Linked DNA regions of Homo sapiens: region 1 is linked to region 2. The links are contacts of gene promoters, found by promoter capture Hi-C in human tissues and cell types (Jung and others, 2019). All regions are on one chromosome and are shown on one strand. Each heading gives the region's core, a stretch centred on a gene start or on the middle of the fragment in contact. The rest is flanking DNA. Distances are from core to core; before and after follow the strand shown. Region 1 has its middle 48 kb from the start of KCNV2. Region 2 holds the start of VLDLR (very low density lipoprotein receptor).

Region 1 (4,876 bases), core at 878-3,377, 140 kb before region 2:
TGCCAGCAATGAATATTATAGCTCTCTTCAATTTTTTTCAGTCTGATAGATATAAAAGGATATCTTGTCCTTGACAAGGTATTACGTGTCCTTGACTTTGAGCATTTTCTCATATGTTTTGCTGGCAATTTGGAGGTGTTTATCTGTGAACTGTTTATTTGTATCCTTTTCCTATTTTTCTCTTGAGTTGTCCTTTTCTTTAAAAAGTGTAGGTTTTTTTGTTTATTTGAGATACTTATCTTTTACCTGATGAGCATTATAAATATATTTTTCCCAATATATCATTTGTTTATGATATATTATCTTTTATCATAAAAAGCTCATCTTCCCTCTTAGAGTTTTTAGATTTAAATTTTGATTGGGAAAGCCTTCCCTATCTCTGTTATACATGTAGTCATTCTGATTTTTTGTGTGTGAGTTTTTATTTCAATTTGTCATTATTTAGTCAACAAGTATTGACATTTAGGTATTTAATCTTCTAAAATTGGATGTTAGTGTGTGTATGAAGGTATACGTTACAGAGTTTAATTTTCTTCCATATTAATAGCCAATTGTGCAGGTACTAGTTATTCAAAAATCCATGATTTCCCCCATCGAACTGAACTATTAATTTTATGATATATTCTCACATAAACTAGGATCTATTTCTAGATTATCTGTTCAGTTCCACTAGTATGTTTATTGATTATCATACAAATATTTTTAATTTGATTTCAGAGCCACACCTTTTCCCCATTATTTTATATTTCCTAGTTGTCTTCCTTGACTATACTGAAGCAATTATTTTTCCACATCAAATTTATGACCGTTTTACCTAACTCTGGGAAACTTTTTGAGGTTAAACTTCCCTAATACTAGCAGCATGTATAGAGACATAGCAGCATGTATAGAGTGTAATGCAAAGATTACAGGTTAAATTCTTTTTATTTTTTTCAGAGTAATATTTTCTCGTTACAAAATAGAGATAATAATTCTTGCCCTGCTTATCTACCTAAGAGGGTTCATACCGTGTGGAGATTCTCCAATACATAATATGATAAATAATACAAACTCCATTTGTCCAGCAGAACTGTTTTGTTGTTGTTGTTTTTGTTTTGTTTTTTGAGACAGAGTCTCACTCTGTTGCCCAGGCTAGAGTACAGTGGCATGATCTTGGCTCTCTGCAGCCTCCGTCTCTCAGGTTCAAGCAGTTCTCCTGCCTCAGCCGCCCAAGTAGCTGGGATTATGGGCATGCGCCACCACGCCTGGCTAATTTTTGTATTTTTAGTAGAGACAGGTTTTCACCATATTGGCCAGGCTGGTCTCGAACTCCTGACCTTAAGTGATACGCCTGCCTCGGTCTCCTAAAATGCTGAGATTATAGGCCCGAGCCACAGTGCCCCGCCAGGACTGTTATTTTGCGTGTGTGTGAGAAAAGTAGTTAGGGCAAGGGAATAGACCTTTTCCATTATTTTATTAGGTGAGATACTTTGTTGCAAGTAATAGGAATGTAAGCATCAAATGCAATCATGTAGGAAGACACGTGTAAATTTATAATTCCTGGTATATAGTGCCTGTATGTACTGTAGTGGTATTGTGGGGGCCATAGGCTCTTGGCCTCCTAAAGGCTCGCTGAAAATCACTGACATAAAGCGGATTGATTAATAGGAGAAAAGGTATACAAATTTATTTAACATGTTGATATAGTTTGGATGTGTGTCGTTACCCAAATCTCATTGAAATGTAATCCCCAGTGTTGGAGGTGAGGCCTGGTGGGAAGTGATTGGATCATGGGGGCAGTTTTCTCATGAGTGGTTTAGTACTATCCCTCTTGGTACTGTCCTCGCAATAGAGAGTGTGTTCTCATGAGATCTGATCGTTTAAAAGTGTGTGGCACCTCCTCACTTGCTTTCTTGCTGCTGCTCTGGCCATGTGAAGTGCCTGCTGCTCCCTTTGCCTTCCACGGTGATTCTAAGTTTCCTGAGCAGAAGTTGAGCAGATACCAACATCCTGCTTCCTGTACAGTCTGCACAACCATGAGCCAATTAAACCTCTTTTTTTTATAAATTACCATGTCTCCAGTATTTATAGCAATGCAAGAATAGAGTAAGACATGTATATACACAGGAGGCTTCAAAATGAAAAGGCCAACTTCCCAGTGAGTAACAGAAACTTATATGCCATACTGAGGCCACAGTAAAGAATGCAGACTCAGAGCATGGCCAGAAACAGGTCAGTCAGGTTTAGTGGCAAGACATGTGAAGAGAGACAGAAAGGAAGAAGCTTGGCTAGCAAAGATGGCCTTGTTACATAGATGAAACCTTCCCCAAAGAAAATAGATGGTAAATGTTTATTTTAAGACTTTAAAAGGTGTCAGACTCTCAATCTTTCCTGGAGCGGGGAAGGTATAGAAAGGGGAGGGGGCGTGGTTACAGTAATGAAGGTTCTCTATAGATGCAAATTTTCCCCACTTAAGGCAGCTTTGCAAATCCACTTCTGTCAGAAGTGATAGGCCAAGTGATAGCCCTTTTAAAATACGTCACAGAAATAGGTTTTGGGATAAAATATTTTTTTTTATTTATTTTATTTATTTATTTATTTTGAGACAGCGTCTTGCTCTGTCGCCCAGGCTGGAGTGCAGTGGCGCAGTCTCGGCTCACTGCAACCTACGCCTCCCGGGTTCAAGTGATTCTCGTGCTTCAGCCTCCCTAGTAGCTGGGATTACAGGCATGCACCGTCATGCCCAGCTAATTTTTGTATTGTTGGTAGAGATGGGGTTTTACCATATTGGCCAGGCTTGTGTTGAACCCCTGACCTCAAGTGATCTGCCCAGCTTGCCCTCCCAAAGTGCTAGGATTACAGGCATGAGCCACCACGCCTGGCCTAGGATAAAATATTTTAATTTCCTTTTATTATATACCTGTGTTGGTATATAGAGCCAAGCCTTACTGCTGTGAGCATCATATGAGGCCCTGGTCATAGCTCCTGTCTGTGGCTACTGTGGAGTTTGCCACTTCCTGTTTCCATGATCTTAGATGAACCAAACTCTACAAGGGAAAATACTTTGTAAGTTACAAAACTGCCTGACAACCACTGATCAGAATTATTCTTGCTGTTTCCTGTGCCGCATTTCTCTCAAGCAGGAGAGAAGTCTGTAGTTCTCAATGGCTGTCACCCACGGCAAGGACAGCTTCTTTCTTTGTGGAGCAGAGACGTGTGACTCTGAGTCAGTGGCAGGCAATGTTATGCTGGTAATAAGAACTCTATAATGAAGCGGTCTGAGAATATGAGTGCATTGTCCTCCTTTCTTTTGTTTCTCTTTTTTTTTTTTTTTTTTTTTTTTGAGATGGAGTCTCACTCTGTCACTCAGGCTAGAGTGCAATAGTGCCCACTGCAACCTCCACCTCCTGGGTTCAAGTGATTCACCTCCCTCAGGCTTCCAAGTAGGTGGGATAACAGGCACCTGCCACCATGCCTGGCTAATTTTTGCATTTTTATAGAGTCAGGGTTTCACCATGTTGGCGAGGCTGGCCTCAAACCCCTGACCTCAGGTGATCCACCCATCTCAGCCTCCCAAAATGCTAGAATTACAGGCATGAGTCACCACGCCCAGCCTTGCCCTCCTTTCTTGATGAAGCCCCTGCTCATATCTATCTTTAGCTATAGTGTTCACAAAAAGATTATTAGATTATCGCAATCTCAAGTGTTATTTGTGCCTTGTTTAATAGACTTGAGCAAAAGTATTTCAAGGGCCTGTGCCAGGTGTTTTCTCTCTTTTTAATCCTTTTTCAGCTGGCAAGGATCATGCACATTTATTCTGGATTTGGCTGATTTTCCCGGGAATGTATGGTGAGATGTGAGTTTGCAACACCATTATTTTTTTTAAGGAACAATAAGGGCATATACACAGAAAGCACCCATCCACATATAATTTTGAATCCCAGGGTCCTTAGAGATATGCTAGTCAGCCCAACTCCCCTCATTTGCAGATTTGGGTGCCAGAAGTGAAAACGCCTTTGCAAAATTTTGACAGTAAGAGAAATCTGACATAGTTACTCCATCTTGATTCTAACCTCCAAGTTGTCCTTGGTCATTCCTGGGCATAAGCCAAGCTAGGTTTGGCAGGAATTAGGTTTATGGTTTAACTTTAAAGCAAGGATGATAATAGCCCTTCCCCAAACTAAACCACCTCTATAAAACTAAGTTCGCAAGGTTGTGATTATGAGAGGGGCCTGAATTCTGCTGAGATGTAGGCGTAGTTAAATGATTACCAGCCCTTGTTCTGGAGGTAACAAGACTTGCAATTTCCCCAATGATTCCCCTAGATAACATCACTATTGTGAAACCTAACATTAGCTTTTTGAGATGTTTTTTAGACTTTTGCATTTCTGACTCCACACAGACCCTCAATTCATGACTCAACCAGTCCTGTGGCCCCCACAGGTGGGCTGAGAGCATGAGAACTGTTTTCCAGACCCCTGTGATTTCATCCCCAATCAATGAACATCCCCCATTCCCTAGCCCCCTGCCCACCAAACTGTCCTTGTAAAACCCTAACCTCCAAACTTATGGGGAGACTGATTTTAGTAATTACTTCATCTCCCACATGGCTAGCCTTGTGTCAGTTAAACTCTTTCCTTACTGCTGTGCTGCAGTCTCAGTGAATTGATTTTGTCTGTGCAATGGGCAGGGAGACGTTGTTGAGTGATTACACTAAAACTACCCATTTATTTTTTAAAGAGAGAGAGAGGGAAAGTATTTGTGTGCAGAGAGAAAGAGAATGCTAAAGTAAAATATAAAATGTTGACAGGTGGAGAATCTAGGTGGAGGGTATGCAGATTTCCATTTTACTAGCCTTTTTATTTTCTCTTTACTTTTCCTTATAAAAATGAGGGTA
Region 2 (4,806 bases), core at 826-3,325:
AGAGCTTTTCTAGGCTCTCAGGCTTGTTACACATCAGATTCCATGTTCACTACACATTCGTCCTCTTCAAAGAGTCCAGGCAGGGGAAGGCATTTGAGAGAACAGCCCGTAAGAGCCTGTGGAGTCTCCTACTTTCCATTGAAAATAACACTGCCCATGCTGCCCACTTAAGAGTCCGCGGAACCATGTGACCAACCTAAACGTGATCGCACCGCTAACCAATCGCAGAGGGCGGAAAGGCCAGTCCCAGTTCACACGCTCCGGACAGTGGCAACCAAAGGGCAGGGGCATTCGGAGACGTAAAAACCCCAGGCGCTGCCCGACAGGCTCCTTGACCACATGCTTTAAAGTTCGCTCTCACTTCAGGAGCACGTGACTGCAGGCCGGCAGGGCCCCTGAAGCCACCCGGCGACGGGAGCCAGGGACTCTGGAACGGGTGTTAAGGGCCTGGGCGGCTTTCAGTCCCAATTCCCTGCAGCTGGCAAGCAAGCCCCTCGGCGTCACATCTGAAGATCACTTCGGGGACGCGCTAGGATTCCGACTGAGTCCTCTCAGAAAGGCTTCCTGTCGCCTGTCCAGGAAAGTTACGAGGCCCCAAGTGGGAACGTGGCTGACGACCAGGCGGGGCCCCCAGGCCCCCGCGGCAGAGTCTGGGGACCCGACAGTAGTCACCGCCGCCCTTCCCAACAAGACAGGGCCACACGCTCGCTCTCGCGCTGCTCCTTTGAGCTATTGTGTAGAATGAAGGCTAATTACAGTCACTAGCCTAGGACTCAATTCCTCTCGAGGAAACGTCACCGGGAAGGAGGGTCAGCAAACTAACCTGATTAAGTCTCCCCTCCACTCCCCCTCCGCGTTCAGCTACACGGGAGACCCGAGCGGTTTCCAAACGCCGCCCGAGGCGGGGAAAAGGGAGAGGAGAAGCGCCCAGAGCAGAGTCCTGCGTAAAGCCCCGCCGCTCCCCTACCCCGCACGCCGGAGAGGCGGCCCCGCGCCGGGGGAGTCGCAGTCCGGGTGCCCTCGGCTCCGCGGAGCCTCCCGGCCGCCGCCCACCGAACGTGCGCCAGCTCGCGGCCGCCGGAAGACTCTGAAGCCCGGCCGGCCCCTGGCGCTCCGCGTCCCCGGAGGCGCTCACCTTCTCCCCCCGTCCGCTCCCGCACTCCCCGGGGTTCGAGGGTGCGCCCGAGGCTGCCGCACACGTCTTGGCCCTCTGCCTCCTTCCCAACACTGCGCCTGGCAGAGGAGGCAGAACCATTGTTCAATGCTCAGAAGCCCACGCACCTCGGCGCCCGTCAAGAGGGCGAGAAACGAGGCGAAGCAGCGGCTCTGGGGGAGGCGGAGTGAGGGGCAGAAGACTAGTTCAGGCGAGGCGTCGGGGCACCCCGAACCCCGCTGTTCCCCAAGCCCGGCTCCCTTTAGCCTCGGCGCTGACAGCTCAGAGGCGCCACCACGGAGGGGAGGGAGGGAAGGCGAGGAGAACCGAGAGGCGCCTCCTAGGAGGCGGGTGGGCAAACGGAGACCTACGCCTCGGGGTCTCCCGGTGCCCCGGCTGGGTCCCGCCCGCCGGCGGAGGGGCGCGTCCTCACTCACCGGTTCCGGTGGCGCCGCTCTCCCGGGGCGCCCAGCACAGCGCGAGCAGCAGCCAGAGCGCCCAGAGCGCGGACGTGCCCATGGTGCCCGCCTGGATGGTGCCGCCGCCGCCGCCGCCGCCGCCGTTCGCTCCGCACGACAAGTTACCAGTCCTTCCGAAAGGAGGAAGAAGGTGGGGGCGGGGAGGGGAAAGGGGGAGAAGGAGGGGAAGGAGTTGGCGGGGGAAGGGAGCGGGGAAGAAGAGGGCACCCCCTCCCCTACAACTTGCACAGTCTCCTCCCCACCCACCCAGCCACCTCCCCGGGCTGCAGCAGCAGTGCAAGCCGAGCCTGCGGGCAGAAAATAATGCAGGCGCTGCAGAGGAGGGGAGGCAAGGGGAGAGGAGGGAAGGGAGAGGGGGTGGGGAGCCGAGAGCAGAAGAGAGCACAGAACGGAGAGGAGCCGGTAGCGGAGCACCCGCACCGGCGGCGGCCGGAGAGCGGGGTGAGCAGCGGGGAGGGGGCCGGAGGGGGCGTGGTCAACGGGAGGCGCGGCGGGCGGGCGGGAGCGCGGCGGCTTCGGCCCTCCTTTCCCTCGACGCGCTCCTCTTGCACGCGCCGGGCAGCCGGGTGCCCGCGCGGGGAGCGTGCGAGTGTGAGCGTGCGTGAGTGACCGCGGTCGTGGTCGTGGCTGCCGCCGCCGCCACCCGGACCGCTCTAGGGGCCCGGCTGCTCCGCGCGTTCGCCTGGGGCTCACGGGGGCCCGGGGCGACCGCTGGTTGGCTCGCGCGCCGCCCTCGCCTCCAATCCCGGGTGCCTGTCCTAATTTCCTGATCCAGGGAACCTGCCGCCGCAGCGGCTGTGCGCTCCCTACAGTCATTACTGTACCCTCCCGGCAGCCTCCGGCAGAACACGCAGCAGCAGCAGCAGTTAGCGCTGATGCAACTATCGTTGCTGTTGCCACCGCCTCCCCACTGACGGGGCGTGCACCTGGGGGGTACTTGCAGTTTCCAGGGGCAACAAGCATCTCTCTACCACCCTCTCCTGCGCCCCTGAGAGAGGCTGGTAGGTAGCATCTTCTTCGGGCCTCCTCTATCCACTCAGAAAGTGATGAAGCGGAGGGGCTCCAAACGTTTGGGCTGCTCAAAAGTGGGGTTTGGGATGCCGGTCTCAATCGCACGCTGAGATGCCGTTTTGCCGAAAACTAAATGTGTCTTTAAGTGAGAGAGTGTGTATGTTTGAAAGAGAGTGCGCGCGGTTGTGGCTGGTCCTCTGTAATAGAACAAGACTGAAATAACCCAGCCTGGGATGAGGAGAAGGGAAATTGCTAGCGCAGCTTTGCATTTGCTCATCAACGATTATAGTTAATTGCTAATTGCACAAAATGATAGTTTGAGGGCCTGTAATTAAAAGCTTAACCTTTTCTTGTTTGGAAGAGAGGGGCCCCATACGTTTATTCCTCTTGATATACTTTGTAACATTCAATTACAAGAATCGAGGAAAGAATAAAGGAAGCAAAGACAAGACTCCTAGAAAGGGTTGGTTCTTCTTTTGTGCCTGACAGTACCTGAGTCTATAATTTGCTTTTTGTGTACTTCAGTTTTCTTGCACACTTAGCCCTGGTTGAGGTGCATTGTCTGCTGTGGTCTGTTGAGCATCTAACCAGAGTGGGAGGGCACATCGAGCGATTTCACTTTCTTAAATAAAAGGTTTTTGGTATTTTGAAAAAGTTGTTTTTATCTTAATTCAAACTTGGAAGGTTTCAATAATATCATATTCTGACTCTATTCTGTTGGTGATCTGAAGAGCAGCGGGCACTGCCTCACTGTCTTCTCCTTGCCCTGGTTCTCCTGGAAATTTGTCAAGGCTAGCAATCAGAGGAGATGTTTATTAGGAACTTACTATATCCAGGAGACACACAGGAGAGGAAAATTCCAGTCAGGATAGGTTTCTGTGGGCCAAAGATATCCTGATTGTGACTGCTAAGCATGAAAGGGCTTAACTCTACGTATGGATGGTATCTTGCACTATAGCTCATTTTGAATGCTATTTTGCCCACCCTGTGGTTACATAGTTGATACAAACTGCAGCAGCCACACAGGTTGCATGTGAAACAACTGAAATTTGTTTGTATGACATTTAGTAGTGAAGATGCATGCCGGTGTTATTCACCTAATGGCATTGAGATGTGATAGGAAAACCTTAGTGCATGATGTCTTTCATATTCTCAGGGTTCTGAAATGCCATCTGATGAGCTACTGCTTTACAGAAGAGGAAAGGAGTAGAAGGGATGGGTGGAATCAATACAAAAAGAGGCAGCATTAATAAACAGTCATATGACTTGTTTTTAATACTTTACTCAGAGATACAGGTATACTACAAGCTATACATTGATATGGTATAATAAGACTTAACTTTGAAAAACGTGTGTGAGTACTTTCTAATTCTCCAAGGGATATAAATAAACTTTCAGTGAACTTAGCTGCAGCTCTGTATTCAATCCTGTAGCTTTTTTGTTGACTCAAAAGAAAGCATAACTTTTGGCTCCATCTCTGATTGACTGTGTAACTTGGGAAAAATCACTGTGCCTCTCTGTGTCTGCCTTTTGGCCTGTAAACTGAAAAGAAAGCCAAGCCACATTATATCAAAGTGCTCCGTGGCCTCAAGGACCAGCTCTCTGCAAGGTGTTGTTTATTAGAAGAAAAAGGTTGTATGGAGAAATTCATTGGATTATGATAGAAAGTAGCTAATAACTAAAAAGATAAATTGATGATAAGTGGATATTGAAGTGGTTGAACTAACAGAGCTAATTGATCATAAGTGGAGACTGAAATGGTTGAACTAACTGGGTTCAGAGAAGTTGACACTGCTGGATTCCCGACGCCGTCAGGTAAATGCAGAGGCAATCCCATTCACTCCTACAATCCACCACATTCATTTATTTGTTGAAGCAACACATAGTGAGCATCCCTGGCTAACGGGCACTGTGCAAAGTAGTGGGCATACAGAAGTGCTTATCTAGGAAGCTCAGCATCTGGTAGGGGAGGCAGGCAAGTGGGCAACTGTAGTACCCTATGTATAGCACTCTGATTAAGAGATGCTTAAAGTGCTAGAAGATTGCAAGGAAGAAGCAGCTATTCTGGCTGCAGGATGAAGGTATCAGAAAAGGCTTCACAGAGCGTTTGTCTCTGAGCTTTTTTCATAATTTTTACCCGGTGATCTGAATTCTCCCTACTTC

The links. The method cuts DNA at HindIII sites, captures the fragments that hold promoters and counts their contacts. A contact is called where the count stands out against the background at its distance.
Region 1: a fragment that was not itself captured here is called in contact with the fragment with the promoter of VLDLR in region 2 in 2 of the 25 tissues and cell types used here (bladder and heart right ventricle).

Annotation. Positions count from the first base shown.
Region 1 is chr9:2,762,760-2,767,635 of GRCh38, reverse strand. No RefSeq gene overlaps it. Among named protein-coding and RNA genes, the nearest start is that of KCNV2, 48 kb to the right of the region's middle. The HindIII fragment of the contact is 8,925 bases long and covers 1-4,876 here.
Region 2 is chr9:2,619,056-2,623,861 of GRCh38, reverse strand. It overlaps VLDLR (very low density lipoprotein receptor), which reads right to left and starts at 2,075. Exons shown (of 19, transcript NM_003383.5): 1 at 1,591-2,075. The coding sequence starts at 1,672. VLDLR-AS1 (VLDLR antisense RNA 1) reads left to right here and starts at 1,489. Exons shown (of 4, transcript NR_015375.2): 1 at 1,489-1,762. RefSeq lists silencers at 941-1,030, 1,041-1,130, 1,401-1,670, 2,281-2,360 and an enhancer at 2,239-2,533. The HindIII fragment of the contact is 11,914 bases long and covers 1-4,806 here.